Linked DNA regions of Homo sapiens: region 1 is linked to region 2. Evidence: promoter capture Hi-C in 16 types of primary human blood cells and fetal thymus (Javierre and others, 2016). All regions are on one chromosome and are shown on one strand. Each heading gives the region's core, a stretch centred on a gene start or on the middle of the fragment in contact. The rest is flanking DNA. Distances are from core to core; before and after follow the strand shown.

Region 1 (7,109 bases), core at 3,267-5,766, 560 kb before region 2:
GATGAGACAGTAGCCCTGATCAACACCTTGATTGCAGCCCTGTAAATGACTCTATAGCAGAGGACCTGACTAAGCTGTGCCTAGACTCCTAACTGACATTTGTTATTTTTAGCTGCTAAATTTATGGTTATTTGTTATGCAGAAATATATGGTTATTTGGTATGCAGAAAATAATACATTTTTCCTCCCTGAGGGCTTTATTTTTTTTTCTTTTTGATATTCTAGTTTTAATTTCTTAAGGCATGTTTTTTTTTTCTTATTTCTCTCACTTGATACCTTAGGACATGCTTTAACTGACATCTTTCTATTTTCTTTAATTCTGGAAAAATAGTTTTTAGATTTAAAAAATATTTGTTTTAATTTCTGTCCTTCTGCAATCCTATTTTCCAGATATTGAAACTTCTACTTTTCTATTAGACAAATTTTAACTTTTATTTTTATATTTGCTCTCTTTTTATCCTTTCCTACTGCCCTCCAACATTTTCTTTACTCTCTTCTATCAGTCTCCTAATTCTTTATTCAGCTGCATGCATTCAACTATTTATCTCATCTAGTGTGTTTATTTTAGTTCATATTTGGCTTCACTCTCATCCCCCAAATATGTTCATTTTTTTCTGATTTTCACTGATATACTGTAGTATATCTGTGGGAGATATGTTTCAATACTCCCAGTGAATGCTTAAAACCATGAATAGTACCAGACTGGATACGGGCTACATTTTTTTTTCTTATACATACATACCTATAATAAAGTTTAATTTATAAGTTAAGCATAGTAAGAGATTAATCACAACTAATAATAAAAATAGAACAACATGCTAGCATCACTACTCCTGTACTTTGGGCCATTTTTAAGTAAATAAGGGTTACTTGAACATAAACATTGTGATACCATGACAGTGGATCTGAAAACCAAGATGGCGCCTAAGTGACTAACAGGTGGGGATATGCTAGAGAAAGGGATGATTCACACCCTGGTGGGGCAAAAAAGGACAGCTCAAGATTTCATCATGCTACCCAGAATGGCACACAATTTCATACTTGTGAATTGGTAATTTCTGCAATTTTCCATGTAATATTTTTGAACCATGGTTGACCATGGGTAACTGAAACTACAGAAGGTAAAACTGAATAAGCAGGGTCTACTGTAGTTTTCTATTACTTTAATTTTCCATGTAACTTGATTGTACATTTAACATTTTTGATCTGTTTTTGTAATGCTAATTTAGTAACAGTCATTTCATTTCTAAATATGTCTTTAAACTAGTCTTTATTAACTGAATTGCAAGGTGATGCGTGCCTGTAGTCCCAGCTACTCAGGAGGCTGAGGCAGGAGAATCACTTGAACCTGAAAGGCGGAGGTTGCAGTGAACCAAGATCGTGCCACTGCACTCCAGCCTGGGCAACAGAGCGAGACTCTGTCTCAACAACAACAACAACAAAAAGATATTTAAGCCTCAGTCTGCATTTCCCAATGAATTTAGAAGAAAAGTGTATGTCCTAAGGAATTCAAAGAAGCACTGCTGATCATACCAATTAGCTTCCACTCCAAAAGGCAATTTCCATGGTAAGAGTTATATTTAAATTGTAGTGCAAGACCACACTGATAAAAGTCAAGTTACCTATTTATAATATACCAGCCAGGGTGGTTTTGCGGAAAGGATGGAGTAGTGACTTCCCAACACTGGCAGGTAATCCTGCATCTGTTTTCATCAGTGCCTTACCTTAGCATGGGTTTTTCCTGCCTTGACTTTATCCTGTCCATACCAGGGGCTTGGCTATTGCTACAGGTTTATTTTCAAAGGACAATTAATGATCATATCTGTTACAAGAGAAAAATTCAAATAGTTGCCTCCACCCTCTGCTTCTCGTGGTGGCCCTTGGCTTTAGCCTGTAACACTCTATACACTCACATACCAGTTCTGAAAATGTCCTACAGATCGAAATTTTCACAGCTGCTTTTTGTGTGTGTGTGTGTGTGTGTGTGTGTGTGTGTGTGTGTGTGGTGGTTGTTGCTGTTAATTCCTAAAAATCTAAACTTCCTTTTTTTTTTTTTATTTCTCCAGGTGTCAGCCGTCTGTACTAGTTCAACATCTTGATTAGAATCAAGGATTTTGGCTGGGCACAGTAGCTCATGCCTGTAATCCCAGCACGTTTGGAGGCCAAGGCAGACAGATCATTTGCGGTCAGGAGTTAGACACCAGCCTAGCCAACATGGTGAAACCCTGTCTCTATTAAAAATACAAAAAATGAGCCAGGCGTGGTAGTGCGCACCTGTAATCCCAGCTACTCGGGAGACTGAGGCACGAGAATCGCTTGAATCCAGGAGATGGAGATTGCAGTGAGCTGAAATCACGCCACTGTACTCCAGTCTGGGGTGACAGAGTGAGACCCTGTCTAAAAAAGAAAAAGAAAAAAAGAAAAGAAAAAAGAAAAAGAAAAAAAGGAAAAGAATCAAGGATTTTGATCCTTATCATAAGAGCAATGGGGAAACTGATTTTTTTTTTTAATGCAGTGAGATGACACCATCAGATTTGTGTTTCCATATGGTATCTCTGGCTGCAGCATTTACAGGAATACAAGAGTGGATATGAGGCTCACGCCTGTAATCCCATCACTTTGGGAGGCTGAGGCGGGGAGATCAGGAGGTCAGGAGATCGAGTCCATCCTGGCTAACACAGTGAAACCCCATCTCTAATTAAAATACAAAAAATTAGCTGGGTGTGGTGGCGGGCGCCTGTAGTCCCAGCTACTCAGGAGGCTGAGGCAGGAGAATGGCGTGAACCCAGGAGGCGGAGCTTGCAGTGAGCTGAGATTGCCCACTGCACTCCAGCCTGGGTGACAGAGTGAGACTCCCTCTAAAAAAATAAATAAATAAAAAAGGAGTGGATATGAGGGTATCCGTTAAAGCTTTACTAGACCAAGTAAGCTTGCTCTACAGTAGTAGTAATAGAAATATAAAGCAGACTTGTAAGATATTTAGAAGATAAAATCTGCAAAAGTTGGTGAATTGTATATTTTGGAATAAAAAAAGGAAAGTGTTAAGGATGACACTGGGATTTAGGCAACTTTAATGGAAGGAAGTTATTTCTTTCTTTCTTTCTGAGATAGCACTGATAAAAGAAAACGTGTAGTGGGGGGAAGAGAAGCAAGTCATAAGTGTGGTTTTGAACATGTTTCATTTGAAGGGGCTTTTAAAATAGCAAAAAGGATATCTCAACAATTCACTTGAACATCCAGGTATAGATCTCAGAGAAATCAGAACTGGGAACATAAATTTATGAGTCACACGGCAGCATAATGCAGTAGTACATGGTGTGTTTAGCCAGACAACCTGGATTTGGAGCCTGGCTCCATCACTCACAAGCTCTATGACCTCTAAAAATTTGTTCACCCTCTCTGAGCATCAGTTACTTCATCTGCATATAATAATTATTTTATTAGCTGTTAGGAGTAAATTAATTTTGTAAAACACTTAAATCAGTGCCAAGGACATACATGTGTTTGGTGGTAAAATAATGGGTGGAGGTGGTAATTCAATCCAGGAGCATGAATAAAACCACGAATCGAGACAAGACAGTTTGAAAACATAAGAGAATCAGTGATCAAGCTGAAAGGAACTCCCTTGAAAAGGGAGATATCTTCAAAAGAGATTGAGAAGGTGTAGACAAAAAGGTAGGAGCAAAACCAGGAAAGTATATTGCCAATGGCGTCAAGATGAGGGACTAATTAATAGTGCTGCGAGGAAAAATTCTCAAATAGTGTGAGATAAAGAGCATCAACTGCAATGGACAGCTGAATAAATGATTTAATGAATACAATGGATGTTCTGATGCAACTCCCAGATCTCCCTTCAGAAATAAAGGTCTATATGACAATAAGTGATAGTTTCGATGAACGTAGGCTGGAGGAAAGAGTTAAGTAAGTCTAGAGGCAAAGCTTCAGGAAAGAGGAGTAAATGGGAAACCTTCAGAGAAGCAGCAACAATAATCGCTGGCCACAGGCAGGCGTTTTAAGTTTTCTCAGGCCAGAAGTGCATGACTCCAAAAAAGCGCGCCGATGTCTTTTAATGCACTGACGGGAGAGAAAAACGTACGCTAGCGGCGAGCACAGAAGCAGAAAATTTATGATTGACCCCGGAAACATTTTATTTTGCGTAGGTGTCGGGAGAGCTTTCTTTTGCGATTTGTTCCTTGATCCGGAAGAAAAGATAGCAAATATCACTTGCCATTGGATTGCATCATAAGGGTTGGGCTTTAGCGAGCCAGTCACCTTGGCAACCGGACGTGACGACCCCGGAAGACGCCCGACCGAGCTTTGCTCCAGCTATCGGCTTCAGTGGGCGGGGCGGCAGAGCCAGACTGACGCAGTCTTCAGCACTGACCAGGCTCTGTTGGGGGTGGTGCCACCAAGGCCACGCCCCCTGCGCCTGCTCCGGCGGAGTCTGGAGAGTTGTCGTAGGCTCTGAGGGCGGAGACTCACGCCGATTCTCTCTCAGCGTAGGGCTGTGAGGGCGCAGTCCACCGCCAGGAGCCTTCCGGTTTCTGCGCGGTGCGCGACCTCGTCCCGAAGCCTGGGGATACACCCTCTCGAGAGCCCGCTGTCGCCCTCCGTTAAGGTCGAACCCCTCACAGTTGCTGTGGGCAACTCCAGCCCAACATTCCCTCGCTCTGGTTCTCGCCCCATTGGGAAACTCGGCCCCACGCTTCCCACTTTTCTGGATGAGGTGTCCCCTTTCTCCCCACTAAAATGTCAAATAACCTACGGAGGGTCTTCCTGAAACCCGCAGAGGAAAATTCAGGCAACGCCTCGCGTTGGTAAGTACCGGTTTCGAATCCTCCCCACGGCTGCCCCTCTGTCCGTCTTAGGGATGTGGAGTCGGCCGTCGTTTCCGGACGCTGTGTAGTTGAGAGGAGTTGGAGCCCGCAGAGTGCGCCACCCAGGCGGGAAGCGCTTGTCTCCGCGGCGCTTAAAGCCCATAGAGCGCTTTCCTCTGGGAAATGTAAAACCTCTTTAGAGCCTGACACAGCGGCTCCGCGGGACCCCAGCGTCTCAAGTTTAATAGGCGGACCGAGTAGATCTCCACGGGAGATGAAAACCAAGATGGCCGACGCTCTTATGTGACTCAAACCTTCTGGAAGATTCTCACGCACACGCAGAAACGCAGCAGTCAGCACGGATTAGCAAGTGCAGCCCTGGTGGCGCTGGACCTTCAGTGAAAATAGATTTTAATAGTGAGACAGAAAGGGTGTGTGATTGAAGAAAAAGGGCTTTAGAATGAGGAGATCGAATATTTAAAATTTCAAGTAATAGTTTTATGTGAAGAGAGAGAAGTAAGACTGGAGAAATCCTCGTGTAAAGTCAGTCCTTTTGAACAGCCTTTTTGAAGTAGGGTGTAATGAAGTGCCATTTCATTGGCTATTTATATTTGGCATGAGGAGAGTCCAGTATTTCTAAGGAAGATATTCTTGTAAAGTTAGAAAATAGATGATCAGTAACTTAGTTTTTGGGTTTTTTTTTTTAAATTGTATTACAAGGAAATGAATTGGAAACAATGTTAGCTAAAGCAGAATATTTTCACTTGTACTCTCACATGGTTAGTAGATTAAGTGATGAGGAAAAAATAGGGTCTGCAGACTCTAATAAGAAAATGAAGAACTAAGATGCAAAACTCATGGAAGAGGATTTTCGTTTGAAGAAAATCAAGCTACCTGGGGTTAATCTCAACTTTGCTAGTTAGCATTTGTGAGGCCAGGTACCTGTTTCCAGTCTGTAAATAATAGCACTTAGAAATATTTTAAAGATTAGGAGAATGAAATAATGTAAAATACGTCGTGTAGGAAAATAGTAAAGCACAATTTAAATGTTAACTATTACTATTATAAGCATACAACTTTAATTCTGTACAGATTTTAGCCCAGCAGGTAGTTTTCTTTAATTGCAAGTAGAAAACTCCATTGCAATAAAGACCGTAAGTAATGGTGAGTCCTTAAAAGCAATATTATAAAAGGAAATGGTCACTAATAGTAATGAGCCAAAATTCTGTTGAACTGTCAAGATAGAACCATTGTATTTCAAATCATAAAAAGAGCCATTTTTTGGTGTACTTGTGTGTTTTTTTCTTTTTTCTTTTTTTTAATTTTGTGGTGGAAGTTTGGGGGAAGGGGCAGAGAGTGCCCTGTGTACATATGAGAAAGTAGAATTACTTTTTAAATGATTAATTTCTGCAGCCTTATTTTAGTACCTGAATACTTACTGACTTCTGACTTAGCTTAATTTATAGAAAATTTGTTTTAGGATTGCATTTTTAAATACAAAAAGTAAGATAAACAACTTTACTTTGTGTGTGTGTGTGTGTGTGTGTGTGTGTGTGTGTACCCTTAACTCTGTTATCCAGTTTCTAATCCTTTTGGGGATTTGGAGATTTTTAAATTACAAATTACATTCATAAGTCATTTTGAGTTCATTAACTCATTGATTTATGCATTGTTTTTATTATTTTTGAATGTATTTATTTAAATCATTGAGGTTTTACATCATATATTTGGGACATTTACCAGATGACTTTCTGAAGCTTCGACATTTACTTTGGTTAATGGTTGCGTATTTGATTCCATTCTGTTCTGTAAGTAATAAAACATCCAAATATAATTTTGTAAATAATATTAACGGCCCTTGTAGTTTATTGGAAACTTAGTTTTCTTATTTTTCTGGTAACATGTTTGATGGTACTAAATCATTTATTTTTATAACTTAAATGACTATGATTTTCTTATTGTTTGTAGCTTAAATATTTCCTGTTACTGCTTATTTAAAATTTTTCAGTAGCATAATACAGAATTGTATATTGTTGTATATTGTTTGAAGTATCTCTTAATTCATCAGAACATCACATGTAAAACCCAAATTTAATCTTAGAGTACAAAGGAAAAATCTGGAAGATATTTGTGATGGTATGCATTTAATTTATATTGATTTGGGTTTTATTGTCGAAGAATAAAGCAGGAGTCAGAACGCTATAGTGGAAAGAACCTTTTAAGTCATAGAGACTTGGGTTCATATCCTAGCTTACCACTTACTATCAATACAGTTTAAACATTTGATGAAAA
Region 2 (6,681 bases), core at 337-2,836:
AGGAAATTTTAAAACTGCACAGATATTTAGCTATGAGGATATTCAACCAGCATTGTAATAGCTAAAACAAAAAACAAACAAAAGCAAAAAAAAAAAAAAAAGTCCAAGTACAGTGGCTCACCTGCAATCTCAGCGCTTTGGGAAGCCAACGAGGGAGGGTCACTTGAGACTGGGCTACACACTGAGACTCCATCTCTACAATTTTTTTTTTAATTAGCTAGGTGGGGTGGCGGGTCCCTGTAGTCCCAGCTTCTTGGGAGGCTGAGGTGGGAAGATCGCTTGAACCTAGAAGGCTGAGGCTGGACTAAGCCATGATAGTGCCACTGCACTCCAACCTTAATCCACAATTAAGATACAGCTATAAAATGGAATATTTTGCAACTACTACAAAGGATGTAAGTGAAAACTTGACATGGAAAGACATTTATTCTAAACTCTGTAAAGAAGGCCAGCTACAGAATTGTACCTCCAGTATGTATGTCAATTTTGCTTACAAAACAAACAAAACAAAAAAAACCATGCTAGGCGTGGTGACTCAGCCTGTAATCACATTTTGGGAGGCTGGAGTGGGAGGATCTGTTGAAGCAAGGAGTTTAAGACCAGCCTGGACAACACAGCGAGACCCCCATCTCTACAAAAAAACGTAAAAATTAGCCAGACATGATGGCTCGAGGCTGTGGTCCTAGCCAGTCGAGAGGCTGAGAGGTGAGGATAGCTTGAACCCAGGACGTCCGGGTTGCAATGAGCTATAATCGTTCTACTGCACTACAGCCTGGGTAACAGAGCAAGACCCTGTCCCCCAAAAAATTTATTTTAAAAAGGCAAACGAAAAAACATTAAAAGTATACATTTACAAAGACAACTATCTGAAAGGATATTCTCCAAGAAGTTAAAAGTCGTCTTTGGACAGTGGGGCCATAGATGTTTTCCTATTTTTACCAGCTTTATAATTAATTTTTAAAAGTTATTTTCAAGTAGTCCTACCCAGTCTTCCTTACGAGTTAGGACTCAAATGCCACTCTCTTCCCCTAAACTGTCCTGAGTCCCCTCACCATAATAAGCACCAATGTCTTCGTTAAAATCCCGACACTGCCAACACTCAGCTAGGGGGTTGAACCTTGCTCCATCTCGTCCTTTAGTCTCTGTGTGCGTCTTTCCCCCTACAAGCCTACTGACCCCCTCCAAGAGGTCCCGTGTCTTCCCCGTACTTGCCCCACAGGCTAGATCAGACCCTGTCTGACCCCTGGGTTATTGTAAAACTTAAGATCTGTCCCCTAGGTCTCGGAGTCGGTTGAACTAGGGTCCAAAGGTTAAAAAACACTGACACAAAATGCCAGGCCACGAACTGAAGCACTGAGGCCCGGCTGCAGACCTCTCCCGAGAGGGGAATAATCCGTGCCGGCCGGTTCCGCCATGGAGCCAGGTGCAGGTCACCTCGACGGTCACCGCGCGGGGAGCCCAAGCCTTCGTCAGGCTCTGTGCGACGGAAGCGCAGTGATGTTTTCCAGTAAAGAACGCGGACGTTGCACCGTGATCAATTTTGTCCCTTTGGAGGCGCCGTTACGGTCCACGCCCCGCTCGCGTCAAGTGACTGAGGCCTGTGGTGGAGAAGGACGTGCCGTGCCGCTGGGTTCTGAGCCGGAGTGGTCGGTGGGTGGGATGGAGGCGACCTTGGAGCAGCACTTGGAAGACACGTGAGTAGTGCGCGCCTCTTCGGCCTGTCCTGAGGTCGCGGCGGAGGAACTTGAGCGGAACGAAAGGCGCGAGCTGCGAGTACCGGCCAGGGCGTCTCGGGGACGTCGCGCGACCCCCGGGACACGGGATGAGGGGGCTAAACTCTACCCAAGGCCGCAGGGCGGGGCGGGTGACCCGGAATTAAAATCCTGCCGGGCACCGCACATTCCCTCTTGAGCGAGTCTCCCGGGCCCAGGCCACGGGCCAAAACTGCCTATCTCGTTGTTGAAATCGTCTTTACGGTCAGGGTGGTTCTGCGGAAGTTTTAGAAAACGGGTTGACTTTTGGGAAGATTGTGCCAGTTGTGCAGTGTCGAGCCCTGCAGTGTAAACAAACACGTATCTCCTGTGTGTAACCTATCAGTTACTTGGTGCTTAAGTAGATAAAAATCATTCTTTAAATTTTTCGAACAAGCAGTATCTATGTAAAATTCAAAACTGGAAAAGTGTAAAGGGTACAGAGAGACACCTGCCTCCCACCGATGTCCCTCAGCTTCCACTTACCCTCCAGGAGGTAACTTGAGTTTTTCAACAGTTGTTTTAAATGAGTTAGTACTAAAACATGCGTTTTTAACAAGAGTGAAAACATCCTAGATGTTTTTCACGCAGTGTTTGTGGCCCTCCAGAACTCAGCAGTACTTAGCACATTTTTTTCTCTCATCAGAGAGAAACTGGTTTATTTCAATTAATTAACTAGAACTTAAATTTTTTGTGTTCTTTTTTTGAGACGGAATTTCGCTCGTCTTCCAGGCTGGAGTGCAATGGCGTGATCTCGGCTCACTGCAACCTCCGCCTCCCAGGTTCAAGCGATTCTCTTGCCTCAGCCTCCCGAGTAGCTGGGATTACAGTCATGCGCCACCACGCCTGGCTAATTTTGTATTTTTAGTAGAGACGGGGTTTCTCCATGTTGGTCAGGCTGGTCTTGAACTCCCGACCTCAGGTGATCCGCCCACCTGGGCCTCCCAAAGTGCTGGGATTACAGGCGTGAGCAACCGCGCCCGGCCCTAGAACTTAATTTTTTTCTTAGGGTGTGACAATGAAAAAAGATTGAGAAATATTGATTTAAAGCACTTAATGCCTGGTACATAGAACACCTGTATGTTTGTACTTATTTAAATCCTTTTTCTCCCATTATGTACTTCAACTCTCTTGTGTTCCTGGAATTAGAATGAAGAATCCCTCCATTGTTGGAGTCCTGTGCACAGATTCACAAGGACTTAATCTGGGTTGTAAGTATCTCTCATACCAACTATTTGATGAATTGCATAGCATCTGATGTTGACTTGGAGCCTAGCGTGCTATTATTTTCTAGCTTTTATTTCCTGTTACCTTGCCAGGTCTTTCTGAGTTTGAGAGTAGAGATTATCTCCAAATAACAGTATCAGAAAATTGAAACTTTTCAGTTGGTATTTATGAAGGAAGATGTTCCTTGCAGTCCTATAACAATAAATAGTTGTCTCTACTAAAAATAATATTTGAATCATTTTAAATTGAGTCTAGAAAGGACTTCAGATAATAACAGCTGTTAACCATTTATTGAATGTATGCCATATGCTGAGACTGCTAGGCTCTAAATACATTATCTTTAATTTTCACAACAACCCGGCAAGGTGGGTGGTGTACAATTTTGAAGCTCAACTACACTAAACAAGAAGTGAATAGGCAGTAAAATGGGATTTCAGTGTTGGACATACCTGGTCTCAATCCCTTGCTCTTTCATTTGTTAGTAGTGTGAACGTGGACCAAAAAACTACCTTTTAGGCCCTCATTTTCTTCACTGGGTTGTTATTTGATAATGGTAATAATCATAGAATTATATTTATTGAGCTGTTATGTGCCAAGCACCATTGTAAGTGCTTTACATATACTCTTTTATTCCTCATAACAACCCAGTGAGGTAGAAAAAGAAATTGAGGGACCAGGTGCAGTGTCTCACGCCTGTAATCCCAGCACTTTGGGAGACCAAGGTGGGCAGATCACTTGAGCCCAGGAGTTCAAGACCAGCCTGTGCAACACAGTGAGACCCCCCATCTCTATTTTTACAATAAACATATATATATGTTTTTAAAATTTAAAAAAAGAGGCCGGATGCGGTGGCTCACACCTGTGATCCCAGCACTTTGGGAGGCGGAGGCGGGTGGATCACCTGAGGTCAGGAGTTCGAGACTAGCCTGGCCAACATGGTGAAACCACATCTCTACTAAAAATGCAAAAAAAAATTAGCCAGGCATGGTAGCAGGTGCTAGTAATCCCAGCTACTCGGGAGGCTGAGGCAGGAGAATCGCTTGAACCTGGGAGGCAGAGGTTGCAGTAAGCCGAGATTGCACCATTGCACTCCAGCCTGGATGACAAGAGCGAGACTCTGTCTCAAAAAATAAAAAAAGAAACTGAGACACAGAGGTTAAATAACTTGCCTGAGGTCATGCAGCTAGTAAGTCGTTAAGCTAGGATTTTTGTCTGGCCCTGAGGCCTCTTAATCACTTTTTTTTTTTTTTTTTTGAGACGAAATCTTGCTCTGTCGCCCAGGCTAGAGTGCAGTGGCACGATCTTGGCTCACTGCAACCTCCATTTCCCAGGTTCAGGCAATTCTCCTGCCTCAGCCTCCTGAGTAGCTGGGATTACAGGCGCCTGCCACCACGCCCAGATAATTTTTGTATTTTTAGTAGATACAGGGTTTCACTATGTTGGCCAGGCTGGTCTCGAACTCCTTATCTCAGGTGATCCACCCACCTCCGCCTCCCAAAGTGCGGGATTACAGGAATGAGCCACTACACCCGGCCTAATCACGATATTTTAAGGTTATATAATATGTATAAAATGCTTACATAGAACTGAGACATAATACTTAATAAATGGTAGCAATTACACATGAGGAAATAAGTTTGGAAAGGTAAATAAGTAAAGCATTCAGTTAATTAGTGACAACTAGTAAACCCAAGACTTGTTGCTCCTAATGCAGGAATGTTTAAAGCTCTGAATTTTTGCTGGAAGGGTAACTGAAAGAGGTAATCGGTGTAACTCAGTTATGTTTAACATGCAGATCAGTCATTTGGGAGAAAAAGGGTAAATTTTTGGAAGCATTTGCTAGGCTTACTAATGGAAAGACTGAAATTCAGGTATGGAAATCTAAAACTAAATGAGTTCCTTCAAGAAACCTTCAAGGCTCAAACGTCGGCATCGGATCTGGTCAAAATGTTTTGTATAGTAATAGTACATCCAAATGCTCTGCCATAGTGGCATGTCTATTACCTGATTTGGTTTCAGGTACAGTTAACTTTGTGTTGCCTTTATATACAGAAATATATTGTAAAGTACACTTAGTAATTAATTTTCGTACCTAGAATTTATAGGTACTTTTGTACCCGAGATTTAGTTACTATAATATATACAGACTAATACAGACATTAATAAAAAGACAATTCTGTAGACATTTTAAAACAGCCAGCTAGCTTATTTTAGCAGAAATACTCTATGAGCAATCAGGTGACATATATCATCTCTATTTTCCAGGCCGCGGGACCCTGTCAGATGAGCATGCTGGAGTGATATCTGTTCTAGCCCAGCAAGCAGCTAAGCTAACCTCTGACCCCACTGATATTCCTGTGGTGTGTCTAGAATCAGATAATGGGTGAGTAGATTTCAGCAGATCCTTTCCTTTTTGTTCAGAAAAATTCCTGGTAAAATTGGCGGGGGCCGGCCCTGTGTTCATCAGTGATTCCTTATTCAGACTACTTTGGGAAAAGTTCTTAATCTTTTGAATCACAGGAACAGACAAGTTGATCCCTAAAGCTAATGTGCTCTCAGGCCACAATGCTATTTAAATGAAGAATAAGAATTGGCAGAAGCTATCAGTTTACCAACAAAAAGAAAGTAACAAATAGCACAAAGGAAAACTAATCAGAGAATAAAAATTACTTTTTTTTTTTTTCTTTTTGAGGCAGGGTGTTGCTCTGGCACCAGGCTGGAGTACAGTGGTGTGATCATGGGTCACTGTGACTTCAACCCCACCGGGCTCAAGCGATTCACCCAACTCAGCCTCCCGAGTTGTAGCTGAGACTACAGGTGTACACTACCACACCCAGCTAATTTTTGTATTTTTTTGTAGAGATGAGGTTTCACCATGTTTCCCAGGCTGGTCTCGAACTCCTGGGCTCCAGTAATTTGCCCGCCTCAGCCTCCCAAAGTGCTGGGATTACAGGAATGAGTCACTGCACCCAGCCAAAAATTACTTCTAAAGCAATAAAATTACTAAAGATATTCCAAGTGATGGTCCTCAGAATAATATGTGAAAAAAAGTATATATATACAACTGCTACTATCACAGCCTTGTAAAAAGAAAAAACATACAGTCATGCATTGCTTAACAATGGGGATATGTTCTGAGAAATGTGTCAGGCAGTTTTGTTGTATGAACATCATAGAGTGTACTTAAACCTAGGTGGTACACCCTATTACACACCTAGGCTGTATTGCTCTTAGACTACAAAGATTTGTAGCCTAAATAATGTAGGCAGTTATAACAGTGGTATTTATGTATCTAAACGTAGAGAAGATACAGTAAAAGTATGGTATAGGGAAATTTTTTAAAAGGTATATCTGAATAGGGCACTTACCATAATGGAGCTTACAACACTGGAAGTTGCTCTGAGTGAGTCAATAAAACTTTTTGACTTTATAATAACACTTAAAACAGTTGTACAGCTGTACAAAAATTCTTTTTTTAAACTTTTTTACTTTTTAGACTTTTTTGTTAAAAGCAAAGAAGAAACACACATTAGCCTAGGCCTGCACAGGGTCAGGATCATCAATATCACTGGCTTCTATCTCCACATCTTCTCCCACTGGAAGGTCATCCAGGGCAGTAACATGCATGGAGTTGTCATCTCCTGTAATGATGATACCTTCTGGAATACCTCCTAAAGGACCTGTCTGAGGCTGTTTTATAGTT

Evidence for each region. The method cuts DNA at HindIII sites, captures the fragments that hold promoters and counts their contacts. A CHiCAGO score of 5 or more calls a contact.
Region 1: the fragment with the promoter of LRIF1 here is called in contact with the fragment with the promoter of LAMTOR5 in region 2 in 1 of 17 cell types (total CD8 T cells); the score reaches 5.7 in total CD8 T cells.

Annotation. Positions count from the first base shown.
Region 1 is chr1:110,961,329-110,968,437 of GRCh38, reverse strand. It overlaps LRIF1 (ligand dependent nuclear receptor interacting factor 1), which reads left to right and starts at 4,516. Exons shown (of 4, transcript NM_018372.4): 1 at 4,516-4,817. The coding sequence starts at 4,750. RefSeq lists enhancers at 4,648-4,857, 4,392-4,928. The HindIII fragment of the contact is 2,635 bases long and covers 3,942-6,576 here.
Region 2 is chr1:110,402,599-110,409,279 of GRCh38, reverse strand. It overlaps LAMTOR5 (late endosomal/lysosomal adaptor, MAPK and MTOR activator 5), which reads left to right and starts at 1,586. Exons shown (of 4, transcript NM_001382293.1): 1 at 1,586-1,694; 2 at 2,901-2,962; 3 at 5,244-5,361. The coding sequence starts at 1,660. It overlaps LAMTOR5-AS1 (LAMTOR5 and SLC16A4 antisense RNA 1), which reads right to left and starts at 1,471. Exons shown (of 3, transcript NR_102697.1): 1 at 1,326-1,471. RefSeq lists an enhancer at 1,415-1,644. The HindIII fragment of the contact is 8,453 bases long and covers 1-6,681 here.